Regions from separate parts of the Homo sapiens genome. Here regions 1 and 2 are each linked to region 3. The links are contacts of gene promoters, found by promoter capture Hi-C in human tissues and cell types (Jung and others, 2019). All regions are on one chromosome and are shown on one strand. The core of a region is centred on a gene start or on the middle of the fragment in contact, and the rest is flanking DNA. Distances in the headings are between cores, read along the strand shown. Region 1 holds the start of ZNF525 (zinc finger protein 525). Region 2 holds the start of ZNF813 (zinc finger protein 813). Region 3 overlaps ZNF765-ZNF761 (ZNF765-ZNF761 readthrough).

Region 1 (2,700 bases), core at 201-2,700, 45 kb before region 3:
GAGGCCTCTTTGCAGTCAAGATAAGAGGAAGGCTTCTGTCTCCTGCTCATTTCTGGGAATGGAATGCCTCGGTGTAAAGCCGACCATTCATTCTATTCTGAGGTAGGAGAAAACCGCCCTGTGGTTGGAGGTGAGACATGCTGGCAGCAATACTGCTCTGTGACTCTTTGCTACACTGAGATGTTTGTGTGAAGAGAAACATAAATCTAGCCTACGTGCACATCCAGGCACAGTACCTTTCCTTGAACTTATTCATGACACAGATTCCTTTGCTCACGTTTCCCTGCTGACCTTCTCGCCACCATCACCCTGTTGCCCTGCCACACTCCCCTCACAAAGATAGTAAAAATAGTGATCAATAAATACTGAGGGAACTCAGAGACCAGCGCCGGTGCGGGTACTCGCACACTGAGCTCCGGTTGTCTGGGCCCACTGCTGTTTCTCTATACTTTGTCTCTGTGTCTTATTTCTTTTCTCAGTTTCTCATCTCCACCTGATGAGAAACACCCGCAGGTGTGGAGGGGCAGGCCCCCTTCAGGCTGAGGCAGGGGAATCACTTGAACCCAGGAAGCAGAGGCTTGCAGTGAGTCGAGATCCCACCACTGCACTGCAGCCTGGATGACAGAGAAATACTCTGTCTCAAAACAAAAGAAAAGAAATAAGTAAATACATAAAAGAAAGTAACAGATCTCTTCCACAAATGTGGAATGGACAACTAACTGGATATCCACATGGAAAAGAACAATGTTGGATCCCTATCTCATACAATCAACCTCTTATTTTAAAACGTAAAAAAAAAACAACGAAAAATAAAGAGAGAAAGAGAGAAACGAGGAAGGGAGCCCTGCGGGAGGGGGTGTTACTTTGTCGCCCAGGCTGGCCTGGACCCCCAGGTTCAGCGATCCTCCCGCCCTGCTTCCTGAGTAGATGGGACCTCAGGCTCCCGCGCCCGCGTCCGCATCCTTGCTGTGTTTATCCGGCAGGTGGTGACCTCACTCCTCGCTGGCCTGAGCACTCCGTCCAGCATCCCAGGCGGTGGCTTTAGGGAAGTCTCTGCAGCTGAGCACAGGGTGGACTCTCCCTCCGGAGTGAATGGAGAATAGAAAGGGAGAGGATTTCTATTCTATTCTCTGGGCCGTCAGCATGACATTGTAAGTTCTGCCCAAGCAGGGCTTTGCATTTCACATTCTACTTTGCATCCGCGTTTCAGACAATTCCAGGGCTTTTGAATCATGGATCGGCCTTCCTGGCCATCTCGCCTCCAAAACCCAAAAACAGAGGCGGTGGGAGGGAGGCTGAGAGACGCACAGATCCCGCCCCAGCCCAGCCCCGCCCCGCCCTCTGCCGGTACTAAAGGGCAAGGTCTCTCCGCCTCTACCCCTACCTGGCCCAGGCCCCGCCCACCTCCTCGCAGGCCCCGCCCAGGCCTGGCTTCTGTCCTTCCCCGCTCAGACGCGCGCAAACCCGGAAGCAGATCGCGTGGAGTGAAGGTCCCTCAGCGGCGCGTGAGTTTCGCTCCATCTTGTATGAAGTCTGCTCTTCCCAGGTCCCCGGCGCTTCTGTCCCTGGGACGTGGGGTCCCTACAGACCTGGAAATTCTCACCCGTCTTCCTTCGCCCAGAGCAAATTGAGACGTCCCCGTGAGAGCCCGGGGGTCACTTCCTTTTGGGTTTAAAGTCTCCCTGAGGCTGGTCCCGTTCCGGATCTTTCTGCTATAGGGCAATATATACACTTTCTATCGCGTAGTTTTCCTGCTCTAAACCTTTTTCTGACTCCTCCCGCCCCGCGCTTTTTAAAGTCCTCACCCGAGAGGTGAATTCCCGCCCTGGGCGCCTCCCAGCCTCGCCCTCGTCGGCCCCTAGAGCGCAGCGTCGCAGCTCCGGTCCCGGGGAGGCCGAGTTCTCTGCCTGTCCTGGGATCCTACAAACCCCACCCTTGTCTTAAGGCGCCGTCGCCCCCCACGTCCCTCCTCATGCCGGGCCCTGCTGCTCCCCAGGTCTCCCATCCGCAGTCACAGCTTGCCCTGAGCCTGCGTTAGGGGAGGTGCCCGGGTTCTGTCCTGTGACACGGGGTGTTCTTGCCTGCCCAGTTCCAGCCCCTGGAAAATAAGCTCCTCCGGGATGCAGGCGTCTTACTCCAAACCCTCCTGTGATTGTGTGGGCCAAAGGGATCGGGAGACAGACAGCAGTAGAAAACCTGAGACAGAGAAAAGAAGAATGAGAAAGGCCCATAACAGATGGCAAAGTAGAGGATGGGTGAGGGATTTGCCAAGAGACAGCAAAAGTGAAAAAAAAAAAAAAAAAGATAAGCAGGAGGAGAAAAGCAACTAGAGAAATGTAGAGAAAAGCTAGATGTACAGAGAGATGAAGGACAGCAAGGTAGGGAGAGGGACAGCAAAGAGGGAGGCTCATCAGGGTGAGGGAGAGGAGGAGGGATTTGGAGCCAGGGCAGACAGAGCAGAGTGGTGCTGGTGGCAAAGAGAACAGAGGGAGAACCACAGCAGGGAGGACACCTGGGGATCTGGGGTGCCAGAGAGTGGGGACAGGGGGTATAACAGAGAAGAGAGAATTTAACGGGGAGAGCAGAGGAGGCGCAGAGATGGTGTTGCGGGAAACTGAGGACTAGAGAGACTGATATGGGGGAGACAGGAGGATGTTTATTTAAGGTACACAGCGGCTCAGCAGATTTACATCTAAAAAG
Region 2 (2,700 bases), core at 128-2,627, 57 kb after region 3:
CATTACCAAGTAGAGCCAGGATGAACTATGTGTGACCAAGGGTGTTGTCAAGTCCTCTTCCCTGAGGACTGATTAGTGTTTATCTTGAAAACATGTACTTAATGGGTTGTATAGAACAGTGAAGTTTCTTTCTCTCTTTTCAACCTCTTAGCTGTTTGTCTATTTCGCATCATAATCTGGCCTAAGGCTTATTTATTAATGAAATGGTTTTAATTTCTTTCTCTATTGTCGTCGTGGAGATGATTTCTCATTGGGGGGAAGACTTTTTGTTTGTTTTCAATTATGTTTTCTCAACAATTGGAAAGTGAAGTAAAAAGTATTTGTTGGGCCAGGTGCAGTGGCTCACGCCTGTAATGCCAGCACTTTGGGAGGCCGAGGCAGGCGGATCACTTGAAGTCAAGAGTTTGAGACCAGCCTGGCCAACATGGTGAAACCCGTCTACAAAAATACAAAAATTAGCCAGGCATGGTGGCACGCGAATGTAATGGCAGGTACTCCGGAGGCTGAGGCAGGGGAATCGCTTGAACCCAAGAGGGAAGAGGCTGCAGTGAACCGAGATCCCGTTACTGCCCTCTAGCCTGGGCGACAGAGAAATACTCTGTCTCAAAAGAAATAAGTAAATAAATAAAGTAATAAATCTCTTCCACAAACGTGCTGAGACAACTAACTGAATATCCAGATGGAAAAGAATACTGTTGGATCCCTATCTCACACAATCAAAATTGTATTTTAAAACATTAAAAAAAAAAAAGGAAAAAAAGAGACGAGGAAGGAAGCGCTGCGGGAGGGGGTGTTACTTTGTCGCTCAGGCTGGCCTGGACCCCCAGGCTCAGCGATCCTCCCGCCGCTGCTTCCTGAGTAGCTGGGACCTCAGGCTCCTGCCCCCGCGCGCGCATCCCTCCCACCCCGGCGCCCCATCCAGCAGGTGGTCACCTCACTCCTCCCTGGCCTGAGCACTCCGTCCCGCATCCATGGCGGTGGCTTTAGGGAAATCTCTGAAGTTGAGCACGGGGTGGACTTGCCCTCCTGAGTGAATGGAGAATAGAAAGGGGGAGGATTTCTATTTTGTTTTGTGGGCCGTCAGCATGAAATCGTACCTTCCGCCCAGGCAGGGCTTTGCATTTCACATTCTAGTTTGCATCCCCGTTCCAGACAATTCCAGGGCTTTTGAATAGTGCCTCAACCTTACTGGCCGGTCTCGACTCCAAAACCCTAAAACAGGCGCTGGAGCGAGGGTGACGGACTCACAGGTCCCACCCCGGCCCCGCCCTCTGCGCCTTCCAAAGGGCAAAGTCTCTCCGCCTCTCGCCCCGCCCCTGCTTCGTCAGGCCCCGCCCACCTCCCAGGTCCCGCCCAGGCCTGGCTTCTGTCCTGCGCGCAGATTCGCGAAAACCCGGAAGCGGATCGCGTGGAGTGACGGTCCCACGGCAGCGCGTGAGTTTGGCTCTGTGTTGTATTAGGTCTGCACTTCCCAGGTCCCTGGCGCTTCTGTACCTGGGGCGTGGGGTCCCCACAAACCTGGAAATTCTCAGCCGTCTTCCTTCACCCAGAGCAAATTGAGACGACCCCGTGAGAGTCCGGGGGTCGCTTCCTTTTGTGTTTAAGGTCGCCCTGAGGCTGGTCCCGTCCCGGGTCTTTCTGCTATAGGGCAATGTATACACTTTCTATCGCGCATTTTTCCTGCTCTAAACCTTTCTCTGACTCCTCCCACCCCGCGCTTTTTGAAGTCCTCACCCAAGGGGTGGATTCTCGCCCACTTCGGCCGGTGGAGCGCAGAACCGCGGCCCCAGTCCCGGGAAGGCCGCGTCCTCTGTCTGGTCCCGGGATCCTGCAGACCCCACCCTTGTCTTAAGGCGCCCTCGCGCCCCCCCCCCCCCACCTCCCTCCTCCTGCCGGGCCCTGCTGCTTCCTAGGTCTCCCCTCCGCAGTCACGGCTTCCCCTGAGCCCACGTTGGGGAGGTGCCCGGGGCTTGTCCTGTTGAAGGAGGCCAGCCCTTCCACACCTGTGGGTATTTCTCGTCAGGTGGGAAGAGAGACTGAGAAAAGAAATAAGACACAAAGACAAAGTATAGAGAAAGGACAGTGGGCCCAGGGGACCGGCGCTCAGCATACGGAGGACCGGCACCAGTGCCAGCCTCTGAGTTCCCTCAGTATTTATTGATCATTATTTTTACTGTCCTAGTGAGGGGAGTGTAGCAGGGCAACAGGTGGGGAGAGGTCAGCAAGAAAACATGTGAGCAAAGGAATCTATATCATGAATAAGTTCAAGGAAAGGTACTGTGCCCAGATGTGCACGTAGGCTAGATTTATGTTTCTCTTCACCCAAACATCTCAGTGTAGCAAAGAGTCACAGAGCAGTATTGCTGCCAGCATATCTCGCCTCCAGCCACAGGGCGGTTTTCTCCTATCTCAGAATAGAACGAATGGAAATGGTCAGCTTTACACCTAGACATTCCATTCCCAGGGACCAGCAGGAGACAGAAGTCTTCCTCTTATCTCAACTGCAAAGAGGCCTTCCTCTTTCACTACTCCTCCTCAGCACAGACTCTTTACGGGTGTCCGGCTGGGGGATGTAAGGTCTTTCCTTTCCCACGAGGCCATATCTCAGGCTGTCTCAGTGGGGGGAAACTTGGACAATACCCAGGCTTTCTAGGGCAGAGGTCCCTGCGGCTTTCCGCAGTGCATTGTGTCCCTGGTTAA
Region 3 (2,700 bases), core at 201-2,700:
AATCCTTACAAGTGTAATGAGTGTGGCAAGACCTTCAGCCGGACGTCATCCCTTACATACCATCATAGACTTCATACTGGACAGAAACCTTACAAATGTGAAGATTGTGATGAAGCTTTCAGTTTCAAATCAAACCTTGAAAGACATAGGAGAATTTATACTGGAGAGAAACTACACGTGTAATGAGTGTGGTAAGACCTTCAATCAGGAGTTAACCCTTACATGCCATCGTAGGCTTCATAGTGGAGAGAAACCTTACAAATATGAAGAACTTGACAAAGCTTACAATTTCAAATCAAACCTTGAAATACATCAGAAAATTCGTACTGAAGAGAATCTTACAAGTGTAATGAGTGTGGCAAGACCTTGAGTCATACGTCATCTTTTGTGTACCATCATAAACTTCATAGTGGAGAGACCTTACAAATGTGAAGAATGTGAAGAAGCTTTCTGTTTCAAATCCAACCTTGAAAGACATAGGAGAATTCACACTGGTGAGAAACCTTACAGGTGTAATGAGTGTGGCAAGACCTTCAGCCAGACCTCATCCCTTACATGCCATTGTAGACTTCGTACTGGAGAGAAACCTTACAAATGTGAAGAATTTGAGTTTTCCATTTCAAATCAAACCTTGAAAGACAAAGGAGAATTCATACTGGAGAGAAACCATACAAGTGTAATGAGTGTGGCAAGACCTTTAGTCAGAACTCATACCTTACACGCCATCGTAGACTTCATACTGGAGGATACCTTACAAATGTAATGAGTGTGGCAAGACCTTTAGTCAGAACTCATACCTTACATGCCATCATAGACTTCATACTGGAGAGATACCTTAAAAGTGTAGTGAGTGTGGCAAGACCTTTAGTCTGAAGTCATACCTTACGCACCATCGTAGACTTCATACTGGAGAGGTACCTTACAAGGATAATGAGTGTAGAAAAACCTTTCATGGGCAGTCAGCATTTTACAAATGTAATGATTGTCACCAAGTCTTGAGTAATGCTACAACTATTGCAAATCATTGGAGAATCCATAATGAAGAGAGATCCTACAAGTGTGATAAATGCAGAATAAATGCAGAAAATTTTTCAGACATCCTTCATACCTTTGCAGTTCATGGGTGAAGTCGTATTAGAAACCTTACAAATGTGAAGAATGTGATGAAGCTTTCAGATTCAAATCAAACCTTGATAGTCATAGAATTCATACTAGAGAGAAACCTTAGCAGTGTAATGAACGTGGCAAGGTTTTAAATCAAAAAGCAAAGCTTGCACATCATCATAGAATTCATACTGGAGATAAACGTTACAAATGTGAAGCATGTGACAAAGTTTACAGTCGCAAATCAAGCCTCCAAAGACAGGAGAATTCATACTGGAGAGAAAGCTTACATATGTGAAGAATGTCACCAAGTTTTCAGTCACACTCAAACCTTGAAAGACACAGGAGAATTCCTACTGGAGAGATAGCATAAAAATGTAAGAGTTTGTGACAAGGCTTTCAGGCATAATTCGCACCTGGCACAACATCCTAGAATTCACATTGGAGAGAAAGCTTACAAGTATAATGAATGTGACAGGTCTTTAGTGGGCAGTCAACACTTGTTTACCATCAGGCAATCCATGGTGTAGGGAAACTTTACTTATGTAATGATTGTCACAAAGTCTTCAGTTACACTACAACCATTGCGAATCATTGGAGAATCCATAATGAAGAGAGATCATACTAGTTTAATAAATTTGGCAAATTTTTCAGACATTGTTCATAACTTGCAGTTCATCGGCGAACTCGTACTGGAGAGAAACCTTACAAATGTCATGATTGTGACAAGGTCTCAGTCAAGCTTCATTCTATGCAAAACATAGGAGAATTCATACAGGAGAGAAACCTCACAAGTGTGATGATTGCGGCAAAGCCTTTAATTCACATTCACACCTCACTAGACATCAGAGAATGCATACTGGACAGAAATCTTATAAATGTCATCAGTGTGCCAAAGTCTTCAGTCTGAGCTCACTCCTTGCAGGATATCAGAAAATTCATTTTGGAGATAGTTGTTCCAAATACAATGTGTATAGCAAACCATCAAGCATTAATTGACACTAGAGTCAGTTCAGCATTGACTTGAGTTTGACTTAACATTGAGTTGAAGCCTTAATTGACATTAAAGTGTTTATGTTAAGAGGACTGGGCCAGGCACAGTGGCTCACACCTGTAATCTGAGCGCTTTGGGAGGCCAGCACCGGTAGATCACTTGAGTTCAGGAGTTTGAGGTCAGCCTGGCCAACAGACGTGAGCCATTTTCCCAGCCTGTTTTTTGTTTCTTTAACAAAAACTGATAGGGATTTTTTTTTTTTTTTTTGAGATGGAGTTTCACTCTTGTTGCCCAGGCTGGACTGCAATGGAGCGATCCCAGCTCACTACAACCTCCGCCTCCCAGGTTCAAGCAATTCTCCTGCCTCAGCCTCCAGAGTAGCTAGGATTACAGGCATGAGCCACCACGCCCAGCTAATTTTGTATTTTTAGTAGAGATGGGGTTTCTCCATGTTGGTTAGGCTGGTCTTGAACTCCCAGCCTCAGATGATCCACCCACCTCGGCCTCCCAAAGTGCTGGGATTACAGGCGTGAGCCACTGCGCCCAGCCCCAGTGATAAGGATTTTTATGGGTACCGTGTTGAATCTAAATCACATTGGGTT

The links. Contacts are between HindIII fragments. The study calls those that stand out against the background at their distance.
Region 1: the fragment with the promoter of ZNF525 here is called in contact with a fragment that was not itself captured in region 3 in 2 of the 25 tissues and cell types used here (aorta and mesenchymal stem cells).
Region 2: a contact is called between the fragment with the promoter of ZNF813 here and a fragment that was not itself captured in region 3, in 7 of the 25 tissues and cell types used here (H1 embryonic stem cells, adrenal gland, heart right ventricle and 4 more).

The regions. Positions count from the first base shown.
Region 1 is chr19:53,364,255-53,366,954 of GRCh38, forward strand. It overlaps ZNF525 (zinc finger protein 525), which reads left to right and starts at 1,451. Exons shown (of 4, transcript NM_001348156.2): 1 at 1,451-1,505. RefSeq lists silencers at 1,339-1,388, 1,789-1,848 and an enhancer at 1,499-1,748. The HindIII fragment of the contact is 12,378 bases long and covers 1-2,700 here.
Region 2 is chr19:53,466,356-53,469,055 of GRCh38, forward strand. It overlaps ZNF813 (zinc finger protein 813), which reads left to right and starts at 1,378. Exons shown (of 4, transcript NM_001004301.4): 1 at 1,378-1,434. RefSeq lists a silencer at 1,222-1,351 and enhancers at 1,422-1,661, 1,598-2,159, 2,160-2,700. The HindIII fragment of the contact is 7,979 bases long and covers 1-2,700 here.
Region 3 is chr19:53,408,945-53,411,644 of GRCh38, forward strand. All of the region lies in intron 3 of ZNF765-ZNF761 (ZNF765-ZNF761 readthrough), which reads left to right. ZNF765 (zinc finger protein 765) reads left to right here. Exons shown (of 4, transcript NM_001040185.3): 4 at 1-2,700. The coding sequence ends at 183. It also overlaps the pseudogene LOC124904793. Among named protein-coding and RNA genes, the nearest start is that of ZNF765-ZNF761, 15 kb to the left of the region's middle. The HindIII fragment of the contact is 3,821 bases long and covers 1-2,700 here.